Linked DNA regions of Homo sapiens: regions 1 and 3 are each linked to region 2. Evidence: promoter capture Hi-C in human tissues and cell types (Jung and others, 2019). All regions are on one chromosome and are shown on one strand. Each heading gives the region's core, a stretch centred on a gene start or on the middle of the fragment in contact. The rest is flanking DNA. Distances are from core to core; before and after follow the strand shown.

Region 1 (3,239 bases), core at 657-3,156, 240 kb before region 2:
TGTGTGCCACTACGCTCAGCTAATTTTTTTATTTTTAGTAGAGACAGGGTTTCACCTTGTTAGCCAGGCTGGTCTCGAACTACTGACCTCAAGTGATCTGCCCACCTCGGCCTCCCAAAATGCTGGGATTACAGACATGAGCTACTGCACCTGGCCGGATCATTGTTAATTAGGGGAAGTAAGGAAAGGAAAGGGTAAATCTTCTAGGCTGACAGAAGAGAATTCGAGATTGTCCCATGGGTCATTGAGCTTGTAAAGGAAGGGATTTGAGATGCCAGTGAGATGGGGAGCAGGGAATGAAAGCGGGATATGTATTTGATGACTAGAAATAGAACATCCTATATTCTTCCTCCTTGTCCCTTTCACATTGGTCAACTTATATTTAGTTTTAGACAGTGGTTGCGATTGTTTTGTCTCATCATTTAACAAGGATTTACGTGGTGCCCAGCACATTACTGATTCTGAGCAAGTACAAATTGAAATGTTCTATAAAGACTGGGACCAAAGCATCAACTATAACACAAAATAGAAATCTTCAAGTTTAAGACATGTTTGAATATAGACATAAATTTAATAATACAGTAAATAACATATTCATATCTCTTTTAAAATAATGATAAATGAAGTAGTAATACCAGCTCTAACAATGGAAGCAGGTTTAATGTAAGAATGTCTGCATAATTCATCACAAAAACAGGTCAGTAAAGAGAAATCATAAACAAAATCACAATAGAAAAAATGCATTTGAAAAAGATTATCAACCAGGGCAGATCCTCTCAATAAAGGAAGAAACCAAGGACAATTGCTTAACCCGATAAACAATGGTTGTTTTAATACCACAGGCAACAAGATATGCTATGTTAAAACAGTAAGGGGTTTAAATTCCTGGATACACCAAAGGCCGTCTACTACAATTTCAATCTTTTGATATTTTGGTGAACATGCAAATGGATTTTTTTTTGGGGGGGACATGGTGTCACTTTGTCACCTGGGCTGGAGTGCGGGGTGCAGTCTCAGCTTACTGCAACCTCTGCCTCCTGGGTTCAAGCAATTATCCCATCTCAGTCTCCCGAGTAACTGGGATTGCAGGTGTAAGCTAAGGTGTCAGGCTTTCTTTTTTTGTTATTGTTTAGTAGAGACAGGGTTTTGCCATGTTAGCCAGGCTGGTCTCAGGGTCCTGGCCTCAAGTGATCTGCCCGCCTCGGCCTCCCAAAGTGCTGGGATTATAGATGTGAGCCACTACGTTCAGCCAAGGGATTTTTAATATGAGAAAAAAAATTGGACTGCATGTTGAATGTCAGAAATAATTGTATTATTTCTATATGATATCATGGATACTAAGTTGAAATAGCAAAAACATAACAGCTAGTAAGTGCTGTAAATAAGTCACCATCTCCACCACATCAACCCTACCCCCAATCCCCAGACCACTCTGGGTCTGGTAACCAATAATCTGCCAGGAAAAATATAGAATATAATAGAAAAATCCAATCACATTAGGAACACATAGACAATACCTTGAGCATAGTAGATCTTCCGTGAGTAGTTAATGAATAAGTAACTGGATGTACGAAATTCAACAGGAGACTAAAGTTTATAGGAAAGAGTGCAGGAGAGTTAGAGACTGTTCGGAAAATAACTTATTAAAGACGGGCCCTGGATTCCAAGGAGTGAGAACAGAAGGTGGGAGACACTGGTTTCTGTGAAAACTAAAGTACCATCAAAGTACAGGGACTTCACCTTCATAGACTCAATAAGTATGGGACTTTCCAGGCTCATTACTGTGAAGGCTAGTACTTATTCTCTCTCCTCTTTTCCTTCTTACCCCACCAGCCCTCACTGGGTCACACTAACTCTGATGGTTATCACTGAAGTTTTCTCTTCTACACGATCTGTTCCTAGGAAGCCGTACTGGGTTTTTTCCAAAGGCTGGGAGCAGAGAATTACAGGTGAGGTTGTTTAAACAGGGGCACATTTTAAGTTTCCAGTGTCTCAAGAGTTGAATTCTCAGAGCACCTTATTAAATAAATTGTTCTATTTTCTTCCCACTCTCCAAAGAGTTTGGCTCCCTTTGAGTAGTAAGAAGATGATAGAATGGAAATTTTTCAGTTAATTTTGTGATGAAATAGGCAGTGGTAGGGCATGATGGATTTATTTCCCCCAAGAAGAAATTCTTTCTTCGGTTTAATTTGAAAGTCACAAGTTTTGCCCTAAGGAAAGATTAATTTCTGCAAGGAACTAAACTCAGGAATCATCTCCAAGCGATGTGACTCCCTTGAAGAGTCTTTGGAGATTTTATGGATCCCTCGGTGTTGAAAATTCATGGAAACAAAAATGTCTTTTCTTTTTAAATATTTTTTCAAATTATTTTTATATATTTTTTTAAATTATAGAATTATATGTATGTATCATGTACAACTTGATATTTGGAAATATATATACATTGTGGACATTCAATGTATCTAATTAACATACGCATTATCTCACAGAGTCGTTATCCTGGTGAGAACACTTAATATCCACTCTCTTAGCATTTTCAAAGAATATCATATATATCATCATTAACTAAAGTCATCCTGCTGTACAATAGATCTCTTGAACTTACTTCTCTTATATAGCTGTAATTTTGTATTCTTTTACTAACATCTCCACAACACCAACACTACTCCTCAACCCCAAACCACTCTGGGTCTGGTAACCAACATTCTACTTCTTTGAAATCTGGATTCTATTTCTCTGAGATCACCTTCGTTAGATTCCACATATGAGTGAGATCATGTGATATTTGTCTTTCTGTGCCTCCCTTATTTCACTTAACACAATGTTCTCTGAGTTCATCCATGTTGCAAATGACAGGATTTCCTTGTGTTTTATGGATGAATCATATTCCATTGTGTATATATACTACATTTTCTTTATCCATTCATTTATTTGCAGACAACTAGGTTGATTCTGTGTCTTGGCTACTGTGAATAATGCTCCAATAAACATGGGAGTGCGATATCCCTTCCACACACTGACTTCGTTTCTTATTGATATATACCCAGTAGTGGACTGCTGGATCATATGGTAGTTCTATTTTTAAGTTTTTGAGGAACCTCCATACTCTTTTCCATAATGGTTGTACTAATTTACATTCCTACCAACAGTGTAGAAGGGTTTCCATTTCTTCATATCCTGGCCAGCACTTACTATCTTTTGTCTTTTTAGTAATAGCCATTTGAGATGAAGTGAGGTGA
Region 2 (3,485 bases), core at 850-3,349:
TATCAATCAGTATGGACCACGTTCTCCTTTCGTGATGGGTCTGTCAAAAAATGTTGCTACCTCCAGTCAGATGATTCCCATTGATGGGACACTCTTACTCGAGCCTGTCTGGCTCCTGCTCAGTTTTTACAGTTTAAGACCTGGTGGCCAGATGAAGCTTCTATTCAAGCTGCCTGCAGTGCACAAATTCAACCTCCAATTAATGTAACTACCGACCAACTTTTGAGAGTTGGTGGCTGGGCTGCATTAGACGCACAAGTGGTCATGCAGGATGATGTTATAGATCAGCTTAGAGGAGTGTGCATTAGAGCTTGGGAAAAAAATCTCTTCAGGTGGAGAACAATACCCTTATTTTAGTGCTGTTAAGCAGGGGCCAAAAGAACCCTATGCAGATTTTATAGCTTGGTTACAGGAGTCTCTTAAAAAGGTGATTGCAGATTCAACTGCTCAGGATATAGTGTTGCAGTTATTAGCTTTTGACAATGCTAATCCCAAGTGCCAGGCTGCTCTGTGACCTGTTAGAGGGAAAGCACATTTAGTTGATTATATCAAGGCCTGTGACAGTATTGGAGGTAATCTGCATAAAGCTACTCTGTTAATGCAAGCCATGGGAGGACTGAGAGTGGGTAAAGGAAATGCTCCATTTCCTGAAGCTTGTTTCAACTGCAGGAAACATGGGCATACGAGAGAGAATGTAGAAAAAATCAGAGGGTCCAACTACCCATTGATGGAAAAAAGAAAACTGCTGAACCAGGTCTATACCTGAAGTGTAAAAAAGGAAAGCACTGGGCCAATCAGTGTCATTCTAAATTTGATAAAGACGGAAACCCGATTTCGAGAAACGCCATGAGGGGCCAATCCTGAGCCACATTCCAAACCAGGGCATTCCTGGCTCAGACCACTCCCTCACCCCTGTATAATGCTTGTCCCCCGCCACAGCTGGTAGTGCCTCAGTAGATCTGTGTTGCACCAGGGCTGTGAGTCTCCTGCCTGGAAAGCCACTGCAGAAGGTACCAACAGGAGTCTGCGGACCTCTGCCAGCAGGAATGGTAGGACTACTTCTGGGAAGATCTAGTTTAAATTTAAAAGGAGTGCAGGTTCATACAGGAGTAATTGATTTGGATTGTAACGGGGAAATTCAAATCGTTATATCTACCTCTGTTCCTTAAAAGGCAGAACCGGGAGAGCGTATAGGGCAGCTTCTGATTTTACCGTATGTGGGACTAGGAAAAAGTGAAACTAAAAGAACAAGGGGATTTGGCAGTACAAATAAACAAGGGAGAGCCACCTACTGGGTAAATCAAATTACTGATAACCATCCTACCTGTGAAAAAACTATTCAGCGAAAGAAATTTAAAGGTTTGGTAGATACAGGAGTGGACATTTCAATCATATCTCTACATCACTGGCCGTCTGCATGGCCAATTCAGCCTGCTCAATTTAACATAGTTGGAGTTGATAAAGCCCCTGAAGTATATCAAAGTAGTTATACTTTGCATTGTAAAGGGCCCGATGGACAACCTGGGACTATTCAACCAATTATAACTTCTATACCTATAAATTTATGGGGGCTCTCCCCCCATACATTTATTACAACAATGGGGAGCACAAGTTCTAATTCCTGAGCAATTATACAGCCCTCAAAGTCAACATATGATGCATGAAATGGGGTATGTCCATGGTATGGAACTAGGAAAAAATTTGCAAGGTTTGAAGGAATCTCTTCAAGCGGAAAGACAAAGTTCCCGCCAAGACTTAGGATACCATTTTTGATGGTAAGCCTGCAGAGCCTATCCTGTTAAAATGGCTGACAGACAGGCCAATATGGATAGAACAGTGGCCGCTGAGTAAAGAGAAACTGGAGGCTTTAAATGAACTAGTCAAAGAACAGCTTCAAAAGGAACATATAGCTCAAACTCTCTCCCCTTGGAATTCCCCAGTTTTCGTAATTAAGACAAAACCAGGTAAATGGAGAATGTTAACTGACTTAAGGGCTATTAATTCAGCTATATAACCTATTGGGGCATTACAGCCAGGACTGCCTTCTCCTGCTATGATTCCAAAAAATTGGCCTTTAATAGCCATAGATTTAAAAGACTTGTTTCTTTACTATCCCCTTAGCTCAGCAGGACTGTGAACAGTTTGCAATTACGATTCCTGTGGTAAACAACTTGCAGGCTGCTAAGCGTTTTAATTGGAAAGTGTTGCACAAGGCATGTTAAACAGTCCAACAATTTGCCAGACTTATGTAGGGCAAGCAATTGAACCTACTCATAAAAGATTTTCACAGTGTTACATTATTCATCATATGGATGATATTCTTTGTGCTTCCCCCACTCCGGAAATATTACTCCAATGTTACGGTCACTTGGAGAATTCAATTTCTCATGCCAGTTTAATTATAGCTCCTGACGCAATTCAGACTACTACTCCTTACGTCTACTTGGGGGCCTTAGTAAATGTCACCACAATAATGCCACAGAAAGTAGCCATATGTAGGATCAATAGAAAACATTGAATCAGACTTTCAAAATTTACTAGGGTATATTAATTGGATACCGCCTGCTCTAGGCATTCTGACTTATGCCATGAGTACTCTGTTTTCTATCTTTAGAGGAGATCCTAGTGTCACAAGCCCTTGGCAATTAACAAAAGAAGCTGAGGCAGAGCTGCAGCTAATTGAAAAGCAAGTCCATAAGGCCCAAATAAATAGAATAGATCTAGAGAATACTCTAGATTTGCTCATTTTTCCAACTCAGCATTCACCTACTGGTGTTATTGTTCAAGAGCGAGATCTTGTGGCGTAGCTTTTCCTTCCATATACTAATTCACGGACTTTGACTCCTTATTTGGATCGAATTGCTACTATGATAGGAAATGGGAGAACTCGGATTGTTAAATTACACGGATATGATCCTGGAAAAATTATTATCCCTCTCACAAAGACACAAATACAGCAAGCTTTTATAAATAGTCTTACTTGTTAAACCCATTTAGCTGACTTTGTGGGTATTCTCAATAACCATTTTCCTAACATGAAACTGTTTCAATTTTTTGAAATTAACTAATTGGATTCTCCCTAAAATGACTAAATCAAACCAATTGAAGGTACTGAGAATGTCTTCGCAGATGGGTCTAGTAATGGTAAAGCCTCTTATTCTGGATTGAAAGGTAAAGTTTTTCAGACGCCCTATACTTCAGCTCAAAAAGCGGAGCTTGAGGCTGTAATTGAGGCATTGACTGCTTTTAATATGCCTATTAATATGATTTCTGATTCTTCATATGTGGTTCTACACAGTTAGTTGAAAATGCTCAGCTACAATTCCACACATAAGAGCAACTGATGACTTTATTTACCCAATTGCAAACAGCAGTTAGGAGTAGAATGCACCCTTTTTACATCACTCACATTAGGGCTCATACACCTCTTCCAGGACCTTTGACTGTAGGGAATCAAATGGCTGATCACCTAGTTGCTACTGCAA
Region 3 (3,227 bases), core at 77-2,576, 130 kb before region 2:
GTCTTTGAATAAATTTTGCTTCTAACAGAAGTTACTATTTATTCCTAATTAGATGGGCAGGAAAGTCTTTGAAGAGGAACCTCTACTTTACTTTTTACTGTAGAGAGAGTAGTCTTTGATCTTGGGGAGATGGGGTTTTTCCTTTTGGTTTAGCTTCAGGAAGTTTGTGTTAATTGGCCTTAGGTGCCCTGCCCCCAGCCCCAGGTGTTTTTCCTTTGATTTAACTTTAGGAAATTATCACGAATTGGCCTTAGATTCCCCGACCCCAGATCTTGGTGTTTTCACTTTTAGGAAGTCCGCATGAATCTTATCTATGCTCTTAACTACGTCCTAATTTTTGTGTTTTTTGTCTTTTTTATAGGAATAGGGTTTTGCCATATTGCCCAGGCTGGTCTCGAACTCCTGAGCTCAAGTGGTCTGCCTGCCTCAGCCTCCCAAAGTGCTGGGATCACTGGCGTGAGCCATCAGGCCCAGCCTCTATGTGCTAATTTTTGAACAAATTCCAATAGGAGCATTCTAGTCTCTGAGTGTGAGATGACCAAAAATCAAGCCCTTGTGAGGCTGAATAGAGTCGGGAGGCAGGGAACTTAAGGCTGTTTCAGGCCGACTTCCTAGAACTAAATTGAAAGGAAAACCCTCACTTTCCTCGCCTAAATAACAAAAGGACCAGAGGCTACTCCCTTTGACCTTTTCTGCTGGCAGATAGGAAATTGGCTGTCTGCAACAAATCAGACTGATGGCCGGTTGAGTCTTCATTTGCATAGAAGTGTAACTTTGTAACGTCGTAACTTCACCCTAGCCTTTGATTGGTTGCTTTTTGCAACCAATCAGATGTTTGCACAGGAGTGTGACCTTTGTAACTTCAGACTCTGGTTGGCTGCTTTCTGCAACCAATCAGACTGAACGCGGGCTACCGCTTCATTTACAGGAGGTGAGCATGAAGTGGCCAATGGGAAAATTCTAGGAGGTATTGGGACTCATGAAGGTTCTGTTTCGGAGCCCTTGAGCTGCCGCTTGGCCAGTTCCCACACTGTGGAGTATGCTTTCGTTTTCAACAAATCCCAGCTCTTGTTCTTTTGTTGCTTCATTCTTTCTTTGCTTTGCTGGGCGTTTTGTCTAATTCTTTGTTCAAAACGCCAGTAACCTGGACAGCTTGCAGTCAAGACCCCCTACCGGTGACACTTGCGCTCTTCGGGGAGGTAAACAGCATTTCCTCTCAGCTCTGGGTTGGAAAAAGCCGCAGCAGCTGATGGGCCCGGGAACCCGAGGCCCCGCCCCCTAGGTGGTCCTAGCCTTTGCGCGTGCGCGGCGTGTCTGCGTGGGCGCATGCGCATAACGGCCGCCATCTTAACAGCGCGTTCCCGTTGGCGTCTGAGGTAAGTTTTTGTTTCTGGGCGGCGTTCGGTGGTGTCCCGGTGCAGCCACGCGAGAGTAGAAGGGTGGAAAGGGGAGGTGCCCAGTGAAATGGAGCCTGTCCCGTGCACTTTCGGGCATTTCGAGCATCTTGTGGGCTCTCCCAAGTCGCGGCCCCTCCTCTGAGAGCCACAGTCAGGTCTGTCCTCAGGGGTCGAGGCGGCTGCGCTGGGGCCTCGGCCCGGGAGGAGGCGGGGGGCACGGCCTTTCCATTTTCCCTGCTCCCCTCTGCAGAAGCCTCATAGGGCCCGGCGCGGCGGCTCACGCCTGTCATTCCCAGCGCTTTGGGCGGATTGGGTAGGAGGATTACTTGAGGCCAGGAGTTCAAGACCAGGCAGGGCAACATAGGGAGACCCCCCCCCCCAACCATCTCTAATGGAAAAAAAAAAAAAAGTCTCCACATCCAGCGTTGTGCCTTTTCTCTATAAGGAACAGCATCTCTGCCTTCCTGTTCACGGTGACCTTCGCTTGGTGTCCTCCTGGCCTCAGCAACCTGACAATTCTGTCGTGTCCCGGTGAGCACTTCATGCACTTGTTCTGGCTGTGGGTGTCGGGTCTTGAAGTTTAAGTTGTGTCGAGGTGGAAAGAAACCTTTTCAGGTGGTTGTTCGAGAGCACATGGATCTGATACCATCGAATGCATGAGTGGATGAATGCACATAACTGTAAAATTTACCACCAAGGAAAAACACAGGACTACTCAACTGTGGTTCCAGGCCATCACCTAGATCTCACTCTAGCGCCCTGTAGATTCCCCCAGAGGTTCAAAACGAGGGCATCCCCAGGAACACGGTGCGGGCTGATTTACTAGCAGGAGGGATTGAATTGATAATGAATGCGAAGATAACTTTTGACAGGTGGGTTTTCTACCAGTTACTCATTTGAAAGTCTTACTGAGGGCGGGGCAAGGTGGCTCACACCTGTAATCCCAGCGTTTTGGGAGGCTGAGGCTGGAGGATCGCTTGAGCCCAGGAATTTGATGCCAACCTGGAAAAAATAGGGCAAGCCTCTGTCTCTACTAAAAATAAAAAATTAGCTGGGCATGGTGGTGTCTGTGGTCCCATCCACTTTGGAGGCCGAGATGCGAGGATCACTTGAGCATGGGAGGTCGAGGCTGCTGTGAGCCATTATTGTGTCACTGCATTCCAGCTTAGGCAACAGAGTGAGACCCTGTTTCAAAAAGAAGAAAAAAAAACAAATACTGATCTAGAGAACATCTGTAGCTCGAGTAAAACAAATGTCTTTAGTCCAGGTGTGGTGGCTCACGCCTGTAATCCCAGCATGTTGGGAGGCTGAGGCTGGCGGATCACGAGGTCAGGAGTTTGAGACCAGCCTGGCCAACATAGTGAAACCCCGTCTTTACTCAAAATACAAAAAATTAGCCGGGCGTGGGCACCTGTAATCCCAGCTACTCAGGAGCCTGAGGCAGGAGAATCGCTTGAACCTGGGAGGCAGAGGTTGCAGTGAGCCAAGATTGCACCCTTGCATTCCAGCCTGGGCAACAGTGCGAGACTCCGTCTCCAAAAAAAAAAAAAAAAGTCTTTAACCCTTAACTACATTCACTAGTTGTTAAGATTTGTTTCATTTTTTTGTATATGTACTTTATCATGAGCCATTTAAATTGGAAGTGAATGAACTTTCCCCTTTTAAGCGTGTATCTCAAATACCTCCTGAAAGTGAAGACAAGCTTAAAACAAGACTTCATTGTCCATCCCCACCCCCAAATCAAATCAGATTTCCCCAGCTGTCCAAAAGTCACCATAGTCACCATTATAGTTGCCAGGTTGTTTGCATGTTTTTAGATCTGTTAAATCT

What was found. Contacts are between HindIII fragments. The study calls those that stand out against the background at their distance.
Region 1: the fragment with the promoter of OR7D4 here is called in contact with a fragment that was not itself captured in region 2 in 2 of the 25 tissues and cell types used here (dorsolateral prefrontal cortex and spleen).
Region 3: a contact is called between the fragment with the promoter of ZNF559 here and a fragment that was not itself captured in region 2, in 3 of the 25 tissues and cell types used here (H1 embryonic stem cells, dorsolateral prefrontal cortex and neural progenitor cells).

What each region holds. Positions count from the first base shown.
Region 1 is chr19:9,217,683-9,220,921 of GRCh38, forward strand. OR7D4 (olfactory receptor family 7 subfamily D member 4) reads right to left here and starts at 1,907. Exons shown (of 2, transcript NM_001005191.3): 1 at 1,518-1,907. It also overlaps a transcript of OR7E24 not described here. The HindIII fragment of the contact is 21,358 bases long and covers 1-3,239 here.
Region 2 is chr19:9,455,228-9,458,712 of GRCh38, forward strand. It overlaps LOC105372269 (a long non-coding RNA gene), which reads left to right. Exons shown (of 3, transcript XR_007067133.1): 2 at 1-3,485. It also overlaps a transcript of ZNF560 not described here. Among named protein-coding and RNA genes, the nearest start is that of ZNF266, 21 kb to the left of the region's middle. The HindIII fragment of the contact is 4,913 bases long and covers 1-3,485 here.
Region 3 is chr19:9,322,853-9,326,079 of GRCh38, forward strand. It overlaps ZNF559 (zinc finger protein 559), which reads left to right and starts at 1,327. Exons shown (of 7, transcript NM_032497.3): 1 at 1,327-1,376; 2 at 1,843-1,928. It overlaps ZNF559-ZNF177 (ZNF559-ZNF177 readthrough), which reads left to right and starts at 1,327. Exons shown (of 13, transcript NM_001384659.1): 1 at 1,327-1,376; 2 at 1,843-1,928. RefSeq lists an enhancer at 1,171-1,420 and a silencer at 1,591-1,730. The HindIII fragment of the contact is 8,356 bases long and covers 1-3,227 here.